Regions from separate parts of the Homo sapiens genome. Here region 2 is linked to region 1. The links are contacts of gene promoters, found by promoter capture Hi-C in human tissues and cell types (Jung and others, 2019). All regions are on one chromosome and are shown on one strand. The core of a region is centred on a gene start or on the middle of the fragment in contact, and the rest is flanking DNA. Distances in the headings are between cores, read along the strand shown. Region 1 holds the start of LDB2 (LIM domain binding 2). Region 2 overlaps LDB2 (LIM domain binding 2).

The links. Contacts are between HindIII fragments. The study calls those that stand out against the background at their distance.
Region 2: a contact is called between a fragment that was not itself captured here and the fragment with the promoter of LDB2 in region 1, in 2 of the 25 tissues and cell types used here (hippocampus and mesendoderm cells).

Annotation. Positions count from the first base shown.
Region 1 is chr4:16,894,318-16,900,216 of GRCh38, reverse strand. It overlaps LDB2 (LIM domain binding 2), which reads left to right and starts at 1,572. Exons shown (of 8, transcript NM_001290.5): 1 at 1,572-1,863. The coding sequence starts at 1,732. LOC107986188 (a long non-coding RNA gene) reads left to right here and starts at 5,097. Exons shown (of 2, transcript XR_001741396.2): 1 at 5,097-5,271. The HindIII fragment of the contact is 10,471 bases long and covers 1-5,071 here.
Region 2 is chr4:16,842,378-16,847,977 of GRCh38, reverse strand. All of the region lies in intron 1 of LDB2 (LIM domain binding 2), which reads left to right. Among named protein-coding and RNA genes, the nearest start is that of LDB2, 53 kb to the left of the region's middle. The HindIII fragment of the contact is 3,486 bases long and covers 1-3,058 here.

The DNA.
Region 1 (5,899 bases), core at 323-2,822:
AGTGTGTTAGGCTGCGCTGCTGGAAGTTTGGGGTGGACTCAGCAAATATTTCATGCAATTATGAAGAAGGACTGATCAAGACAGCAATACACTTTTCTGTGTCTGAGTATTTTTAAGAGTGTAAATTGCAGAATTAGCAATACTCTATCCCCTGTTGGCTAGTGACTTGGAGATACCCAAGCCATGATTGGGGCAGAAAGTTAATTAATCTGCTTATTAAAAAGAAGAAATGTCTCATTTGCATGCATTTGCATTCAGGTCTTGAATTCATTATGCTTTTTGGTGGTCCTTTGCTTTATTTCCTTAATACCACTGACCTACCTAGGTGTTAGCTCAATACATTTAAATTTTGTGTGGCTGGGCTTTGTTTAAGTGTCGTATCTCTGGTTATAGTGGGTTCTAGCAGAATTTGATTATTTTATAGATTGTTTAATTCTCTATAGAGATTTTCCCCTTCCATGGGCTGTTGGGATTTCTTATGGTTATCATATACCACAGTTGGGAAAATATTTGTTTACTTGACCAATCTTGGAAAATACAGACTTTGTCTCCATAAGAGTTGGACATGTTATCTGGGGATGATCCATTCAATTATTTGCAATTTCCTTCTCAACCAAATTTTCCGTGGTCATTTTTGTGGCAGTTTTCTCCTTCTTTGCTTTTCCTGTCTTATTGGGAGGTCTGTTTGGGTTTTTTGTTTGTTTGTTTGTTTGTTTTTCCTTCCTGGGAAAAAAGACCATTGCTCTCCTTAAGTGTATTTTATACCTTCCACATTCAGAACGACTGTTTTTACCTGAAAATGCCCAGGCACCTTAAGGGCCTGAATGAAGTCTTTGGAGAAGAGGGAGGTGGCTGGGAAGAGGGGTGAGTGGGGAGAGATGGGAGTGAGATGGAGTGGAGGGCAAAGAATATAACAGCCCTTGGAACAACAGCAAGTAAAGCAAAACTACATAGGGAGATTAGTGCTGAAATAAATCTCTGCATGTGAGTGAATCACCGGTCCCAATTCGGGGCACCACAGTGCCCGTGTTTCTGTATTTTGTAGTAATCAACATTTCTGATACATTACAACAGTGTGGTTGTCAGGGGTGAGCGGCTCATGTAGCGGTTAGACCACCTCTATGCTAACAAGCTTAGCAATCAGGTTGTGAAGGGTCCTGGCTGGAGGAAAAAAATTAAAACCAAACCTTAGACCTCTTGTCAGACTGTGAGGAGAATTATATTTGTGAACTAGTCTACAATGTGGACAGGAAATGACCTCTCCACAAACTGCTTCTTTAAAAACAAGCAGTGGTGCCTAAAGCTATCCAGCTCCTCTCTCTCTCTCTCTCTCTCTCTCTCTCTCTCTCTCTCTCTCTCTCTCTCTCTCTCTCTCTCTCCCCCTCCCTCCCTCCCTCCTCCCTCCCTCCCTCCCTCCCTTCTTCCCTCCCTTCCTCCATACCAACCTCCCTCCCTCTCTGGAGCTCCTGCTCTCTCCCTCTCCCTCCTCTCCCGTGCTCCCTCCCTCCCTCCCTCTTTCCCTCCCTCCTCTCCTCTCCCTCTCCTCTCCTGCTATAGAGGGCTCCGACAGCAGTTCCCAGCCAGCGTGTTCAGCCTGCCTGCCTGCCTGCCTCTGTGTGTGTGTGAGCGTGTGTGCGTGCGTCTACTTTGTACTGGGAAGAACACAGCCCATGTGCTCTGCATGGACGTTACTGATACTCTGTTTAGCTTGATTTTCGAAAAGCAGGCAAGATGTCCAGCACACCACATGACCCCTTCTATTCTTCTCCTTTCGGCCCATTTTATAGGAGGCATACACCATACATGGTACAGCCAGAGTACCGAATCTATGAGATGAACAAGAGACTGCAGTCTCGCACAGAGGTAAGTACTTCAACCTTGGGGATGTGTTTGTGTATTTTTGTTAAGCTATGCATGAGCTTTTCCTAGGGTTTCTGGCTGAATTCTATGGGAAGTGTCCCACTTGATACTACCACGTACGTGGAAATGAGCGCCAGGATGAATCCACGAGTTTGGACGCTGGGTTTCCAGGCACAGCAACTCTTGTAGCAGAGGACAGTTTCTGCCGGAATCTTGAGACAACCCAGCACTTGATTCACATGCCGGGTTTCCAGAAATGTTGCTCTTCCAGAACTCTGGTGTTTTACAGGCTCTGAGTCAGTCCTGTTGGTGTTTCTTGAGATATAATTCCAAGGAATTTTGTGATTGTTTGCATCTGGCTATATATATATATACATATGTGTATATATATATATATATATATATATATACATATGTGTATATATATATATATATATATATATATATATATATATATATATTTTCTTTTTTACAAATCCTAGAGGAAGTCTGCTTTGACCTGTATTTACTTTTCAGAGTCACCAAAATCGAGGTAAAAAGGGGCAGAAGAGTAAACCTGCCTACTTCTCAGAACTAGCCCTGGAGGGACACATGTTTGTATATTTCAGTGTTAAAATCAGAAACCAGTTGCTTGGGGCAAGGGGACTCTAGACTTTCTCCTATTGCTGTCGGCCGTGCCCCCCTATCACTCTACCTTAGGACAGGAGCTGGTTCAGCTTTCAAGTCAGCTCTAGTTTTTGCATATTTGAGATCTTGTGCCTGAGAGAGGGAGACTCAGCCTCCTAGGCAGCCAGCAACTCTGGGAGCAGAGAGAACAGGACTTTCAGAACTTTTTAAATGCAAAACTCCAGACTCGCCTCCTGCAATTTAAATATTTTATGTCAGTTGACTTTTTCTCTGTGCTAGCTCAGCTGGCAGGTCTTGCTGCTGGATTGTCCATCTGCCTGTAAGTTGGGGCTTTGTGTGGAAGTGTTCGGAAAAGGAGTTTGTTATAGGTGCACCAAAGTCACTTTAGGAAGTGGAAATTGCTAGGAATTTAGTCTTCTCTGCAGAGTATAAATACCACAAGATTTATGCCAAAGAGCTTTTAGGGAATAGCTCTGGTGGAATTTTAGATTGAAGATTGACTTTTAACTCTAGGAAGGGACTCCATTAAGTTTGTGCTATGGGATAAAACACAGTTGGCTTGAATTGTCAACAGAGCCATAGAGAATTCATGACGTTTCGTGTATTTAATACAGCTAACAAGATGTGACCTGCTTTCTGATTGGCTAACTGCTGGACAAGGACTTATATGTATTTTAAAAGCTGGGTTGTCTTTAATGACTGCTGTTTTCTTTATATGTTAATACACCATAGACGCTAAATATGACTGCTGGTACTCTTGCTCTTTCTAGAAGCCAGTAGCTTCTATAGAAGTGCAAACTATGTTTTGCTTAGGATAGTGAACTGTTGGCAGTGACTGATATTTGTGCTTGCTGTTTTGTGTATGTTGCTTTGTGTGTGTAACAGTTTGTATATTTCCTTCAGATCTTTGCAACTGTGTGTTGGAATCTTAAATCTCTGCATAAACCATTGGTTGACACAGGCTGCTTTCATAATTAGGAGGATAGAAAATGTCTTATAGTTCAGGCACACATTAATTGCAATACAAATTTGGAAAAAATAGTCTTTTAAAAGTATGATTAGTTATAAAAAAAGAGGCCAGGGACCATTATGGCTCAATTCTTGAACAGCAACAATATTTAAAAATGACCTGTCCACCTTACATTTTAGAAAGTTTTTGAGGAATTGCAGAGATTCTTCTCCATCCTCCTGCAGTTAGGAACACAGGCAGCTTTCTCTGATATCTGCCTGCCCTCCTGCCCATTACTGAGCACTTGGCCAGGTCTGAGCTAGGAGACTTATCTGCAAGATTTCCCTACTCTTGCCCTCATTAAAAAAAACTGCAGGATTCAATATGGTCCCAGGTTTGTTTCCCATTTGAGACAAGACATTTGAAAAGACCTCCTTTCGCAGTATGCTTTGCAAAGATGGTACATTATTTTTTGTGAGAGCTAAACTCAGGAATTCCTAACTTTTGGATTATGGGGTATTACTTTTAAAGATTTAGCTCTGAGTAGAAAAAGACTACTTCATAGCTCAAGAACCAAGAGAAGAAAGCTTGCTATGACAAATCTTAAAGATTTTTTTAAACCTCCCTGCCTGTAACAGTAAAGTGCTATGAACTGTTTTCTGGTGTGTCCTAGAGCTAACCGTTTACATTTTTCCCTCCTTAATTAGATAATTTTTCAAATAATTATTCAAATAATTGCCTCAATACTTCTTTTTTTCTTTGCTAAGCAGTAAATACTGTCATGAACGCAATGCCATACATTTGTTTTTATTTCATATGAAAAGGGGAGAGAATCAAATAATTGCTCCTAAGATATTTAAATATTTACATCAAATATTAAATTTTGATCATGATGTATGTACCTTGAAAAAAACAATTTTCATGTAAAGTTACACTATACCTTTACCAATAATTGTTATTTATGATAAAGCTGCTCTGAGTTCTGGAGAGGGATTGGTTGGGATAAAATACAATGATACTCAGCAAGAGTTATTAGTTTATTCACATGCAAAATCAAATATGCCTTTGAGTGACTACTTTGAGAATTTAGCCAAAGCATACAACCATTTTGGGCAAGACTGACTCACCCATCCCTCTTCCATCTCTCTCTTCCTCTCTCTCTTCTGGTCCCACTCCTATAGTATATAGTATTATTTCATTAAGTCCTAATATCTCTCTCACACACACACACACACAAACACACCCCACTGGGTAATACTCTCAAGTCTTCACCCCTTTTTGAACATGGACCTGGCTAGAAAAACAATATATAGCAAATCAGTATGTGATGAAGAAATTGTAATCAAGTTTCTGGAAATTTCCTAGAAACCTCCTTTTTTATATGGAAAGAAATTAGTAAAGAACCATGATGTTTACCTACTCTCCTTCCATGGCTGATCCCAGGGCATTTTCTCATGGGGATCCATGCATTTCTTCCAATTAAATTAAATCAAAGTTCTTCAGAAGCCGGGAAGTTTGAGTTTAAAGAGGATGGCATTGGGAGTTAATATTATTTCTAACTCTTACAAACTAGTTAGCATGGGTCTTGGTTCCTCATTTGCAAATTACCAACAGTGTCCCTTTAATTGAAAATTCAGATTTTCTTTTTTTTTTTTTTTTTAGCATGAAAAAGTATTATGAAGTAAAGAGTGCAGACATTATTTCTTTGCTCATGGTATTTAGTTCAAAATCACAAAATCACAAAGAGTTCTTCATGTTGGCACTACGCTAATTAAAAAAAATACCATAAACACCAGAAAAGTGTGAGTTCCGTTATGTATTTTTCCTGTTTTGAGGTTTTTTTTTCTTTTATCAATATTACACATCCAATAATAAAATAATTGGGTAATGGTGAAGAAAACTTGAAGGTCCAGTTTGGTTTTAAAGCTAGCACTTAAAGCAAGTAGTTCCTGGACCAAGTAGGTACTCATTAAACATTTGCTGACTAGCCAATCAGTGAATCAGTAGACAAAAGGAGAGAATTTGAAAACCAATGCATTTAAATTAGCACCTTCCCTGAGAAATACAATTCTGAAGTTTTTTGGGGCCTGGTATCTCCTATTGAGCTGAAGCAGCTTTGCGCCTCTGCTTCTCACTCTCCCTAAAGTGTTCATCTCACATCCCCCACATTTATTTTATGTGAGGTCATTTAGATCCATAATCTTTGTGGCAGAGGAAAGCAAGTGACTAAGTACTAACAGGACCTCACCTCTCTGTAAAGGAATAGGCATGCATTAAAAAGCAAACAGCAACAACAACAAAAGTATATTTTAAATGCTGCTAGCTGTTCTGGGAAATAAATTTTTTTTTCAACATTAGAATCTCAGTGGAATTTAATAAAGAAATGTGTGGGTGCTCTTCCCACCCTTTAAAATGAAATTAAGAAAAATTCTGAGGTTAGCATCACTGTTGTTCACTGTAATT
Region 2 (5,600 bases), core at 66-2,565, 52 kb after region 1:
ATTTGGCTTTTTCATTTGCATTATAGCAGAGATTTAAAAATATTACTTTAAAAAATGTGTTAGGCTGGGCGCGGTGGCTCACGCCTGTAATCCCAGCACTCTGGGAGGCCAAGGCGGGTGGATCACGAGGTCAGGAAATTGAGACCATCCTGGTTAACATGGTAAAACCCCGTCTCTACAAAAAATACAAAAAATTAGCTGGGCACTGTGGCGGGCGCCTGTAGCCCCAGCTACTCGGGAGGCTGAGGCAGGAGAATGGTGTGAACCCTGGAGGCGGAGCTTGCAATGAGCCGAGATCCGCCACTGCAGTCCAGCCTGGGCGACAGAGCGAGACTCCGTCTCAAAAAACAAACAAACAAACAAACAAACAAACAAACAAACATGTGTTAAAGAACCTTTACCAATGATTGCCAAGTATTTCTTTCATTTAATAAGATGATAAGTTATTGCAAGAGGTTTAGGTGTTTCTAACGATTGTTATTTTTTACCACTATGGTAAACATCTTTGATGTAAGAATTTTTTCAAAATTTGGGTAACATCCTTAAGGAGGAGGTGTCACAAAATAAGAGTTTGGACATTTCCTAAAATCTTCCTCTAGAATGTTAACACTGAGTTTCCAACAGTATTGAGTAATTGACCTTTCCATTAGTATGGATATAAGTGACCCTCTGACCACATTCTGGTCCCTGTTAAATGGTATCATGAAAAAAAATATTATGCTGATTTGAGAGTCAAAAATTATTTGGTGTTGATAGTCTCATTTGTATTTTGTGGCTTACTAGTGAGCATAAATATTTTTCTACATGTTATTACAACATATAGAAATGTTTTTATCTTGCCATAAAAACAATTACGGGGGATTTTTCATTAATTGGGGTCCAACTAACTAGAACCTCAACTATTCAAATTTTGGGGTGAGAGTCAAATTGAAAAGAGAATGAAATGACACATACTGAAAAAGGAGAGAAATTAAAATAGAGTGGAGTCTTCTCCAGCTCTCAGTATAAAACTCATCAAGGCAAAACTGTTTTATTTAGACATCTGGGAAATGTACTTTGACAAACATCCGCTTGATGACTGTCAGTGTCATAAAGAGACTTTGATATCAAAAATCCACAGAAATTGTTGAAATAAATTATATATTTTTGTGACAAAGCACTCTTTGCCTGCTCTTTTGCATTGTCCATGTGATTTGGCTTTGGCATCTTAATACAAAGGAGAGCCCCATTTTCATGTAAATGACATGACAGAATTAATGGAGAGCTCTAGGGAGTCTACAGACTGCAAATGTGGCATCTCCCCTACCTGCTTTTAGCAATGCTTACCCGTAGTTGCTTTTCAGTATTTTTAACATATAAATGTTTCCAAAATTTACATATTCAGTGTTTTTATAGCTCTAGAAATACTCTCTCAAACTACTACAGAAGGTAACAAAACATCCTTCAAAAGTCTGATTTCCATGCATTCAGGCCATAAAAAATATATAGATAGAATTTTTAGACTCACTTCCAATAAGTTAAAATGCAACTTGTTCTGCTAAAGAGTTTGATCTTTTGCTTACCAACAGCACCAGGGGTAGACAAGATAGAATGTACTTTGCTTTCTATTTTTAAAACCTGGATTCACTGGGCTATTTGGTATTTGAAATTATTAAAGCTTTGTTAGCCATCTTGATAGGTTTACATGTTACAGCTGAGGCTTCTTATCTGTTAAACCAAGTGTATTAGACAATGTAAAAACATGTTAAGAATGGGCGGAGGTCTTAGGGAGTGCATTGCATAGAAAAAGTCTGAGAGTTGAGATCAGATGAACCAGACCTTATAATCCAGCCTTGCTACTTATTAACTTTTTTTTTTTTTTTTTGAGACAGAGTCTTGCTCTGTCGCCCAGGCTGGAGTGCAGTGGCGTGATCTCAGCTCACTGCAAGCTCTGCCTCCCGGGTTCACCCCATCCCATCCTCCTGCCTCAGCCTCCTGAGTAGCTGGGACTACAGGCGCATGCTGCCACGCCTGGCTAATTTTTTGTATTTTTGGTAGAGATGGGGTTTCTCCATGTTGGCCAGGCTGGTCTTGAACTCCTGACCTCAGGTGATCCACCCACCTCGGCCTCCCAAACTGCTGGGATTACAGGCAGGAGCCACCGCGCCCAGGCTTATTAGCTCATTTCTTTTGGGCAAACTATTTGACTTCTCTTGCACCATTTCCTAATTAATATCCCCATAAATTAGGACTAGTAGTACTTGAAAATTAAGGGGTTGAATGAGATAGTACACATAAACCAGCTAGTAGAGGACCTACCCATGGTAGGTATTTCATAAGTCCTATGCGATTAGTATTGCTTCTGGTCTTATTCCTGTCACTGTTGCTGTCATAGGATGTTGCTGCAAGAAACAGTAGATGTTGGGATAATAGGGAATCATGTATTTTGTAGTAGCCCATATGATAAATAGTATTAGCAACCATAACAAACATTTATGGAACACTTAACATGTGTCAGGTCTTTGTGCCTGCCGTAGGAAGGCAAGAGAGAAAAGTAAGCTTTGCCTATTGCCATCTGGGTTTCTTTGATAGAAAAAGCTGTTACTGAGAGAGCTAAAACACCCACCAGTGCTCAAAGGAAACAGGGGCGGCCATGGGATAGTCACAGAAAGAGCTGAGAGGAGATCTCGATGACATGCATTGCAGTTGTGATTGCAGTTACCAAAACGGCTCTTTAATAAGGAGGCTTAATGTATAAATTTGGGAGCAGGGGATCTGCTTACACTCTTGCATTCCACTTCTCCCCTGGAAAGCCCTCTAGAGCTTCAGGGACCACAGAACAAAGGCCACTGACCTTGTGCAGCCTCCACCTGCTAGCTTTAATACAGTGAAATTGAGACCCCACATCTCTAATCTGGGACTGGGCTGAAACATGCACTGCATGAGTCTAAGCTGTTGACTCTTAAAGAGCCAGAGTGAACTTTCCCCCAGTGGGCAGTAGATTCCGCTGCATCTGCTTATGGATGTTTACTCTTGACCTACCATTAGCAGAGACGTGACATGATGTAGTTTTCCCTCTTGTACCTTTTAACCACAGACCACAATCCATTTGCTCTGAATGTTTAATACAGTATCAAGCCTGAAATCAAATGAGTGCAGGTGGAAGAAAACATTAGGTGGGTTAGGTCAGGGAAAAGCAATGTTTTCAGGGCTTCTGCAAAATGTGCTAATGTTGTGAGGAAAATCAACAATAAGATCAGGGAAGTAGCACTCGAAACCAATGTCTTAAAAAGTCATGGACAAAAAAACAAAAACAAAACAAACGAAACAAGATGAGAGAAGACATGGGGATTGTTCTTGTAAATGCAGAGTCAATCAATTTGATTTCTTAACATTAAAACACTTTGTGCTTTAAGGATGTATCCCAGTTACCCCATCAAAAAGCAGAATTAGAAAAAAAAGTCTTAAGAGAAAAATAACAGACAAATCCTTAATATCTTTACCATAAAAAGGGATATGAGAGAGCCCCAAGTGTTCTTGTGAAATAAAGTTTAGAAGTTCCTTTTCCAGATGTGCAACTGCAGAAATGTAAATAAAGCTTTAGTAAAGGGAGGTCATTGGCCAAGGAATTTGAAATGAGGCACCCAGGGAAGTGGGAGGAGAAGTGAGGTATTTAGTTTTTACTTCTACAGCTGTTGCTTGGTGACTCACCATTGATAGATCCTTTTTTTTTTTTTTTTTTTTTTTTTTGGAGACAGGGTGTGTCTCTGTCTCCCAGGCTAGAGTGCAGTGGCTGGGCCTCAGGCCTTCACCTTCTAGGCTTACGCGATTCTCTCACCTTAGACTCCCAAGTAGCTGAGACTATAGGAGTGTGCCACCACGCCCAGCTAATTTTTTTTTTTTTTTTTTTTAGAGATGGGGTCTTGCTATGTTGCCCAGACTGGTCTCAAACTGCTGGGCTCAACCCGTCCTCCCATTTTAGGCTCCCAAACTGTTGGGATTACCAGTGTCAGCTACCACACTTGGCTGATTGATCTTAATAGGGAAAGCAAACTCCTTAGTTTTTAAAGAAATACAAATTTGCTGGGCGTGGCAGCTCACACCTGTAATCCCAGCACTTTGGGAGGCTGAGGCAGGTGGATTACCTGAGGTCAGGAGTTCGAGGCTGGCCAACATGGTGAAACCCTGTCTCTACTAAACATACAAAAAATTAGCTGGGCGTGGTGGCACATGTCTGTAATCCCAGCTACTTGGGAGGCTGAGGCAGGAGAATAGCTTGAACCTGGGAGGTGGAGGTTGCAGTGAGCCAAGGTCGTGCCATTGCACCCCAGCCTGGGGAACAGAGCGAGACTCTGTCTCAGAAAACAAAAACAAAAAAAAGAAATACAAATTTATAAAATAGCATTTTTTTTAAAATGGCACCCTGTTTTTATGCTGTTTGATAATGCCATTAATAATGTATAGGTTTAAAATATCTCATATTTTAGAACTTGGTGATGAACTATGTATACACTTGCATTCAATATTTAACATTTAAGAATCTGTTGAAGTGGTTCATTCATTCATTCACTCATTCACTCATTTACAACTGTTTGTTGTCAGACCTGGCTCTAGTCTTTGGAGACTGAACAGTGAAGAAAACGACATGCTTCTTCCCCTTAAGAAGCATACACAGAGAAAATGCCTTCTTAGGAAATAATCCAGTATGCGGAAAACGCTAACTTTCCAAAGACATGTATTATAACGTTATTTTTAACACTAAAATTGAAAATAATCTTACTGTTTAAAAACTAAGGAAATGATTACTTATAATAAATTCACTGGATATAGACATTGAACAAGGTGTTTGTAAGAAAAGTGTTTATGCTGTATTAAGTAAACACCACAGAGTACAGATTTGTATATACTGAATGATTGCAATTAGGCTGACAATAAGGAAAGGAAAAAGTACAAAAAAAATGGCTGCGTGGTAAGACTGTCTTTTTTCTGTTGGCAATATTGCTCTTTGCAATATTTTCTTTTTGTTTAAGTAAAATAATAACAGTGTCCTCTTTCATAAACTTACTTTGTGTTAGGCTTTATGAGCTTAATATACATTTACTCATTTAATCCTCACAGTAGCCCTATATCACAAGTCAGGAAAATGGGGCAATGAGGGTTGTAGAATTGGATTCAAACCCAGAAATACCAGTTCCAGAACCTGACCTCTTAACTACTACGCAAATCGCTCCTTTAGAGAGAAAAATTGTTCCAGGTTTAAAAATGTGAATCCAAACGCTGGTCTCCAGAGCTCAAGCTCTTATGCCTTGTTGGTAAGATAGAGATCTTAACAATATCCACTACTCAAAGGCTGCTATGGAATGAAGCACATATGATGATGCTTGTGAAAGTGTTTTGTAAATTTTAAATTTCCATTCAAAGATCACTCATGGGGTGTATTCAAAATATCTGAGTGCCTTAATAAATGTGTATATTAAATAATTTAAAGCACATTTTTGTTGAAGTATTCACAGGTAAATTAGCTAGTTTATATATTTTAAATAACTGTTTAGAGCATGGATTTTTTTTTTAATTTACAGAAAATGTACTGAATAAGGTTTATTTTGTAAATTAGTTTCTTC